Linked DNA regions of Homo sapiens: region 1 is linked to region 2. Evidence: promoter capture Hi-C in 16 types of primary human blood cells and fetal thymus (Javierre and others, 2016). All regions are on one chromosome and are shown on one strand. The core of a region is centred on a gene start or on the middle of the fragment in contact, and the rest is flanking DNA. Distances in the headings are between cores, read along the strand shown.

What was found. The method cuts DNA at HindIII sites, captures the fragments that hold promoters and counts their contacts. A CHiCAGO score of 5 or more calls a contact.
Region 1: a contact is called between a fragment that was not itself captured here and the fragment with the promoter of RTCA in region 2, in 1 of 17 cell types (erythroblasts). The highest score is 5.4, in erythroblasts.

Annotation. Positions count from the first base shown.
Region 1 is chr1:100,335,202-100,339,334 of GRCh38, reverse strand. No RefSeq gene overlaps it. Among named protein-coding and RNA genes, the nearest start is that of CDC14A, 15 kb to the left of the region's middle. The HindIII fragment of the contact is 1,198 bases long and covers 2,116-3,313 here.
Region 2 is chr1:100,264,097-100,268,381 of GRCh38, reverse strand. It overlaps RTCA (RNA 3'-terminal phosphate cyclase), which reads right to left and starts at 2,166. Exons shown (of 11, transcript NM_003729.4): 1 at 1,962-2,166; 2 at 1,758-1,858; 3 at 87-230. The coding sequence starts at 2,006. It overlaps RTCA-AS1 (RTCA antisense RNA 1), which reads left to right and starts at 2,208. Exons shown (of 3, transcript NR_110435.1): 1 at 2,208-2,378; 2 at 2,465-2,553; 3 at 3,135-3,640. RefSeq lists enhancers at 1,998-2,357, 1,926-2,475. The HindIII fragment of the contact is 11,806 bases long and covers 1-4,285 here.

The DNA of each region.
Region 1 (4,133 bases), core at 1,465-3,964, 70 kb before region 2:
AAGTAATTTTGGAAGTACAGTGTAACATTTTTAGGTTCTATAGGAGTAGAAAAAGGGAAGTATATCTTTAGCTACATTAAAGAGGGAATATTCAGTAATCCTTATCTACTTATAAAGAAGTTTCATATTTTAATAGTAATTGAGTGTGTTGTATTGGGAGAAATCAGTCTCTCAAGAGAAGTTAAATAACTACTCTGACCATAAAATAATCTGTCTACCTTACAGATCCTAGGTTGCATAATTAGCATTCATAAAGTATTTTTAAAAGAAAATCACTTATGAGCCCTAAGCATTACTGTGTAATTAATAATTTCCTAGACTTTATTTGATTAGAGATTACAGATGCAAAATTTAACATACCTGGCATGAAATCAGACTTTCGCTCTCATCCTCATATTCAGCAATGCTCATAGTGTGCTAATGCCATCAAAATGCCAGAAAAAATGTGCTTTTAAAAATAATTTAGTTTTTGGTAGTTCTCTACTGTTTCTACTCACATTTCCAACATCAAATGTGTAGGAATTTTCCATACCAAACAATTCTCCAATTCTCTGCCCACATCAATTGGGTTTCCTACAGTTCAACTTAATTGTAGGACACCCAGTTGGCGTGAGCACAGAAGTTACCTGGAGTTACCTGACACTATTTACATGGAGTTAGCATCAGATCTCACAAGTTAAAACTTCAGTACCACAAGACTGTGTCACTTCAGATGCCAGTTGCAAGTTCCCAGGTTACCAAAAGTAAAATTCTAAGCCCCCCAACAAACTGAATGGACCCCTCCTCTCACCCAAAGTCATTCCATAGTTAACCTGAAAAACTAGATCAGGCTGTGATGGCAAAGGAGGGGTCCAAACATGCCTCATTATACCCTCCTCCCTTTAGAATTCAGGTACAACTGACCAGTATTAACATTGAAACAGAGACCTAAAGATTGACCGAATAGACTCTTGTAGCAATAAGATACCAACATGACAGATAGCTAACCTTGAAAGGAATCAAAGTATTTTACCCCCAGATATATTTCTTTGACATATTTTGAAATGGCCCTGCAAAGCTGTCTATTGTGGGGAAAATCTACTTTCTGTAGAGAATCCTCTCCCCCTTTCCAGGTCTTTTCCCTGATCCAGGAGAGAATTAACTAAGAGTCTGGCACCTTTTTTAAGTCTGATAAAAAAAACATTTACAATCTAATCTCTCTGAAGCCTGCTACCTGGAGGCTTCCTCTACATGACAAAAACCTTGTTCTCCACAAGCCCTTATCTTAACCCAGACACTCTTTCATTCCTTTCTATTGATTCCAGGTCCTTTTTTTTTTTTTTTTTTTTTTTTGAGGTGGAGTGTCATTCTTGTTGCCCAGGCTGGAGTGCAATGGCGCGATCTTGGCTCACCGCAACCTCCGCCTCCCGGGTTGAAGTGATTCTCCTGCCTCAGTCTCCCCAGTAGCTAGGATTACAGTCATGTGCCACCACACCCAGCTAATTTTGTATTCTTAGTAGAGATGGGGCTTCTCCATGTTGGTCAGGATGGTCTCGTCCCAATCTCAGGTGATCCGCCCACCTCGGCTTTCCAAAGTGCTGGGATTACAGGCATGAGTCACTGCGCCCATCCTGATTCCAAGTCTTTAGATAATAACTTAACTTTTTCGACCAATTGCCAATCAGGCAATCTTTGAATCTGCCTATGACCTAGGACATCCCTCTCCCTACAAGTTGCCCCGCGTTTCCAGACCAAACCAATGTACATCTTACATGTATTGATTGAAGTTTTACATCTCCCTAAAACATATAAAACCAAGCTATAGTCTGACCACCTCAGGCACGTGTTCTCAGGACCTCCCTGGGGCTATGGCATGGGTCCTGGTCCTCAGATTTGGCTCAGAATAAATCTCTTCAAATATTTTCCAGAATTTTACTCTTTTCATCACCATTACCTATCACCCATAAGTCAGAGTTTTCCACAACCCCTTCCTCAGATTCAGTAATTTGCTAGAATGGCCACCAAACTCAGGAAAGTATTTTACTTACAATTACCAATTTATTATGAAGAACTCAAATCAGGAATAGCCAAATGGAAGAGGCATAGGGAAAGGTATGGAGGAAGGGGCACAAAGCTTCCATGCCCTGTGTGCACACCACCCTCTCAGCATCTTCATGTGTTCACCAACTCAGAAGCTCTTCAAACTTTGTCATTTAGGGGTTTTTATGGCAGTTCCACTATGTAGGCATGGTTGATAAATCACTGGTCATCGGTGATAGAACTCTGTCTCCAGCTCCTCTCTCTCTCCTCCCCAGAAGTCCTGAGGTGGGGCTGAAAGTTTCACAAGGTTAGTTGCTCTGACAACCAGCCCCTATCCTGAAGCTATTGAGGGGTCCCCCAAAAGTTACCTTAGTATGGTTGGAAGAGGCTTATTATGAATAACAAAAGATGCTCCTATTTTTACCACTAGGGAGCATATCCAAGTCTTGCGGGAACAAAGCATGTTACTGGTAGCAAATTCATACAGGTAGATAGCAATCTCAATTCTTGCCTTCTCAGAAGAAAGAATTTGACCAAGGGGGCATAAGGCAGAGTGAGGGACCAAGATAAGTTTTAGAGCAGGAGTGAAAGTTTATTAAAAAGTTTTAGGCAGGAATGAAAGAAAGTAAAGTACATTTGGAAGAGGGCCAAGTGGGCGACATGAGAGAGTCAAACACCATGCCCTGTTTGATGTTTGGCTTGGGGTCTTATATGATGACATGCTTCTGAGGGTTGCATCCTTCTCCCCTGATTCTTCCCTTGGGGTGGGCTGTCCGCATGCACAATGGCCTGCCAGCAGTAGGGAGGGGCCGCATGCACACAGTGTTTACTGACATTGTGCACATGCTCATTTGAAGCATTTTTCCCTTAGCAGTCGAGGGCTTAAACTCCACCATTTTGCCTCTTAAAGTGCATGCTTGAGCCCACCCACCCAACTTCTGAGATCTTACCTGGAAGCAGCTAATCACTAGTTTCAGGTGTTTCCTATCTATTGAGAGACTGCCTTTCCCTGGCGCTGGCTACAATCAATGATTATTTAGAGAGAAAGTTATCAACTGCATGACCATCATCTGATGGTCACCTGATGTTCCTGGTTGGGCGGTGGGTAGGGAGGTCTCATGCCCTGCTCTTGTCTGCCTACCTATAGTAACACTATCGCCCCTATCATTCAGGAAATTCCAAGGGTTTTAGAAGTTCCATGTCAGGAACTGGGGACAAAGATCAAACACATATTTCTTATTTATCACAGGTAGAAAAAGAAAAGAAGCCTAGGAATTACTTGCAAAAGGAAGCTTTCTGAGTCTTTCCATTTTCTAAAGACTTTGTTGCATTTGCCCAAAATTATTTAAGAAGGGGCCTTTAACTGCAAATATGCTAATTATAAACTGAAAGTATTTATTGTGTAGCATGGTGCATTTGAGCTTTATTAAGTTTTAGATTAAACCTAAATACACAGTGTCTTAATTTAATTTAAATTAAATTAAGATTTAAATTAATTTAAATCTGCTTCCCCAAGAAGCAGATTTTGAAACAAGAATTCAAGTGCAAGTAATTTATTTGGGATGTACAAGGAAACCATCTGGGAAGTGAAGAAATGGGGCAAGGAAGTGAAGGCAACTAATAGAGGGTGTGTCCTTGAGCCTAGCTACCACTGGCTTGGTGTGATATAAAACCACGAGCCTAAGAACTATCCCCACAGGAGCTGTGATATTTATCCACCAACTCCTGTCACCCATTGGTGGAGGGCTGCTCCTAGGGGTGTTAATTTCTGAGCATTTCCTTTGGTGCATGCAGGATTCAGAAGTTCTTAGGCACAAAGATGCAGATATTGGCAGGTGGAAGTCTTGGAAGCCAAGGGGAAGGGAGCATACAGTGTCAACGATAACAGAAAATCAAAATCAGAAAGAACAATTGTCTTTCGTTTTCTCAAATAGAATGTGGTTTTTCTGTTGCCTTTCATGCAAAAACTCCTCAAAATTTTTCTATCTTCTCTGCCTCTAATCCTTCTCCTCTCATTGTGTTTTTAACACACTCTAATCAGGCTCTGTACCCACTATTCCACCAGAATGTTCTTGTCAAGGTCACCAGTGATCCACAAGATGCTAAATTCAATG
Region 2 (4,285 bases), core at 917-3,416:
CATAGACATTAAGCAACTTGCCCAGAAAGTGGCAAAACCTGGACTTAAACCCAGGTTACTTAAATGGAATGTTAAGTGATACATACCCTGCTGTCTTGGTATCTGCTGTGTGGATTCCACCTTTGATCTTCTCTGGTGTAAAGGTTATTTCTGTTGAGCCAATTTCTGCCCCCTCCAGTTGCCCATCACACAAATCTCGAATCATTTCCAGTCCAGATAAATGTTGAGGCCTTCAGGTCATAATACTGCATCAAAACGTGTGCATTCAGACTGCCTACATCCCCACATTTTATGACAAATTTATAAAACTGCAATGGCAAGAAAACAGCAAGGTCTAACCACAGTAAGTGCCACATCTTCAGTGTCAGCTTCCTTTTGGGTTTTTATGCACCTAGACTACCTGCTAGTATGTATCATTTTAACACTTCCTTGCAGACCAGTTATTTCTGACTATAAATACATACCCTGATATATTGCTGCAAATTAGAAGTGTGCTAAAGAAGAAAACTAATAGTTATTTCAGTGCCACCAGTCTCGCTTGCACTTGACTGAACAATCTATGGTGCCTGTATGGGCTGAACTATGTTCCCCCTAAATTAATATGCTGAGACTGTAACCCTCCGTATCTCAGAATGTGACTATATTTGGAGATAGAGCCTTTAAAGAGATAATTAAGTTAAAATAAGGCCACCATACAATCTTACTGGTGTCCTTATAAAAAAAAAAAAAACTAGAACATACAGAGACGCTAGGGGCAAGGTACACAGAGGAACCACCATGTGAAGAGGCAAAAAGACAGGCCTGGAGCAGATCCTTTTCTCATGGCTCTCAGAGGAAACCAACCTTGTCAGGACCTTGATCTTGGACTTCCAGCCTCCAGAACTGTGAGGAAATAAATTTCTGTTGTTTAAGCTCCACTCTGTGTGTGGCATTTTGTTATGGCAGCCCTAGCAAACTAATACAACACCTACAGCCTAATGAATTGGATTCCCCTGTTGGTGAACTGGAGGGCTGCAAACTATGACAAAGGCAATTAACATTAACATATCAGTAATTGCCTTTTGGTAATTTCAAAACTGTAGACAAAAGACTGAGACCGCTGATTTATTAAAATGTAATAAATACAGAATACATACAAAGCAATCAGTGTGGCTTCAAACCTGGGTCCTCTTCTAGCAGGTGCATGTACCTGAAGCTCAACTAGTGGCATGCCCAGCTACCCAGACAGAAGAAATAAGGTCAAATGTCAAGGTGTTTCCCTCTCCACAACAGATAATTCTGGTCATAACAGCTCTCTGGAGGTATGAATGAAGGCTGGGATAACACATCTCAGGATTCTTTCCTGTTTTATGATTCTAAAACTGACAGCAGAACCAGAATGCACTGGTTATAAAACAGGGTTTCCTCTGGCGTCACAAGCATTTCTGCCCTATCTATCTTGCCAGCTCATACGTGCTGTTCGGATATTTGGAATGCCCGGTGAGGTGAGAAAACATTTTAAAAGCTAGCTCTTCAGCAAATGACACTATTTAGTCAAACAGAGAAAACTCGAGACCATTTCTAAACTCACCCCTCCAGGCTTTCAAGACTTTACAACCCAGGCCACCGCCCAGGCAGAGTGCCCCGCCCTGGATCGCCCATACCTGCGTCTGGGACCTTCTGGGTTCCACCACTCGGACTCCCGATGCCCCAGCCCGGCAGCCCGACCCCCCGATCCCCCAGCTTCACGGCCCAACTCCCCCTCCAGCCAGATTTACCTCAGGCCTGGCGTGCTCCGGCCGGCTCGGATCTTCTGCACCCGCAAGGGGAGGCCTAGGAGACAGCTCAAGGCCGTAGAGACTCTCAGGATCTGGCCGCCCTGCAAAGGTTGGGGTACAGGGAGAAGAGAAGTAAGCACACCGGTGGTGAGAGCTCCCCTCCTTAGTTAGGCTGCAGCCCCGGCCGCTTCGCTCTGTACTCACCCCTTCCATGATGCTGCCATCGACCTCCACCCGCGGCCCCGCCATGGGGGACACCCTGGGGCCCAGCCCGCAGCGACAAAGCCTCCGCCAGAGCGGGAGAAAGAAGAGACGTTGGCTCCCGCCCAGTAGTTCAGAAACCTTGGTTCATGCCTGGGGCGCAGGAGCCTGACGAGAAAGCGGAAGAAGCGGCGCCTCTCGGGACACTGGAGTCAGCAGAAACGAACCCCCGGGTTCGCCCAGTTCCGCAGTCAGTGCGCATGCGCGTAGCTCGGCTTAAAGGAGCCGCGCTGGGAACACTGCGGTCGGGGCGAGGAAGCTGCCGGGGAAGTGAGATGACGGTCGCGGGGGTGCCCAGGAGCCCTGAAAAACTTGTGCCCTGGGCACGGCAAAATCTGCAGGTTGCAGAAAGTCTCAACTGTAAGATAACTCCTCCAGTTATCCCGCAGGCTTGTGCTTTATCTCTGTTTTGTGGGTAAATATGTGTTTATATCTGTTTTCTCGAGGATCCTGGCATACCCCGAGGTGCCGACTTTTAGAGCTGAAGATGCAAGAAAGATTGGGATCCTGCGATGCACCGAACCTGTCTCTCGAAGTGTGTGCGCCCTGGTACATTGATACTCTTGGCCTTTGGTTCCTTGCGGTGTGCGTGTTTGTGTATGCGGAGTGTGTTATCTTTCTTTCTAGGGTGACACACCATTTATTTGAGAGGCGGGAAAGGCAGAATCACTAGTTTAATATTCTGAAAAGCCAAAGTTATGCCATTTTGCTTGAGAGTGAGTGCAAGCTCTTGACTCCCAGGAACAGTGCAGCTAACAATTCACCTCAGGCGAGGGCAGAAGCAATAGCCAGCTTCTTGGTTCTGCCTGTGGCTCAGTTCCTACATAATTGAGTACCAAATAATATGTAAACCTCTAGGGAAGCAAAAAAGAGTAATTCAGCTTCTACCCCCGAAGTTATTGGAGGTATAATGGAGAGACTGAGACGTAATCAATTACAATGTCATCCTCAATAATAATTAACATGTACTGTATTTAGAGTTTATTATGGGGACAATTACAATATATTAATAATATACTGTAACAATAACAGGCAACACTTATTGAGCACTTAGGTGTTGTGCACTGCATGCATTCATAACATGATAAAGTACTTACTGTTTTTACTGTTTTACAGCTTCCTGTGTTAAACAATTTGCTACAAGGTCACACAATTTTAACTAGAAGACTGAGATGTGAACCTGGGTGGTCTGATGTGAACACCACTGTCTGGTAATCCCAACGCTCTGCTGCTTTGCGACAGAGAATGTTTTAGGGAACACACAGACTATGTACTTAACCAAATCTGGAATTTGCCGTAAGATATTAATCAGAGAAGTAATGATACTTGCATTTTAAAATGAAGGCTTTGGCAGTAGGAGAAGGGTGAATAAGAGGCTTAAGAGCCTGAAGGGAGAAATGCCAATGATACAATTATCCAGCAAGAAATAATCAGAAGTTGAAGTAAGGCAATGATGGTAGGGATGGAATATAAAAAAGCTGTACCCCTATCTGACATCTTTATTGGGGGAACCCGCCCCCAATATTTCAACGTAGGTTCTTTCTATTTTCCATAAGTGTTGGCCAGCTGAGAAATAAAGAGAGACAGTATAAAGAGAGGAATTTTACAGCTGAGCCACCGGGGGTGACATCACATATCGGTAGGACCATGATGCCCGCCTGAGTCTCAGACCAGCAAGTTTTTATTAAGGGTTTCAAAAGGGGAGGGGGTGTAAGAACAGGGAGTAGGTACAAAAGTACAAAGATCACATGCTTCAAAAGGCAAAAAGACCTTACTACTAGTAAGGGTCTAACAAAGATCACATGCTTCTGAGGGAACAGGACAAAGGGCAAAAGCAGAACTACTTATAAGAGTCCAACAAAGATCACAAGGCAAAGGGCAAAAGCAGAGCTACTGATAAGGGTCTATGTTCAGCAGTGCACATATTGTCTTAATAAACATCTTAAATAACAGAAAACAGGGTTCAAGAGCAGAGAACTGGTGTGACCACAAATTTACCAGGGCGGAGTTTTTCCCCACCCTAGTAAGCCTGAGGGTACTGCAGGAGACCAGGGCGTATCTCAGTCCTTATCTCAACCGCGTAAGACAGACATTCCCAGAGCGGCTGTTTATAGACCTCCCCACAGGAATGCATTCCTTTCCCAGGGTATTAATATTTATATTCCTTGCTAGTAAAAGAATTTAGCAATATCTCTCCTACTTGCACATCCATTTATAGGCTCTCTGCAAGAAGAAAAATATGGCTGTTTTTGCCCAACCCCACAGGC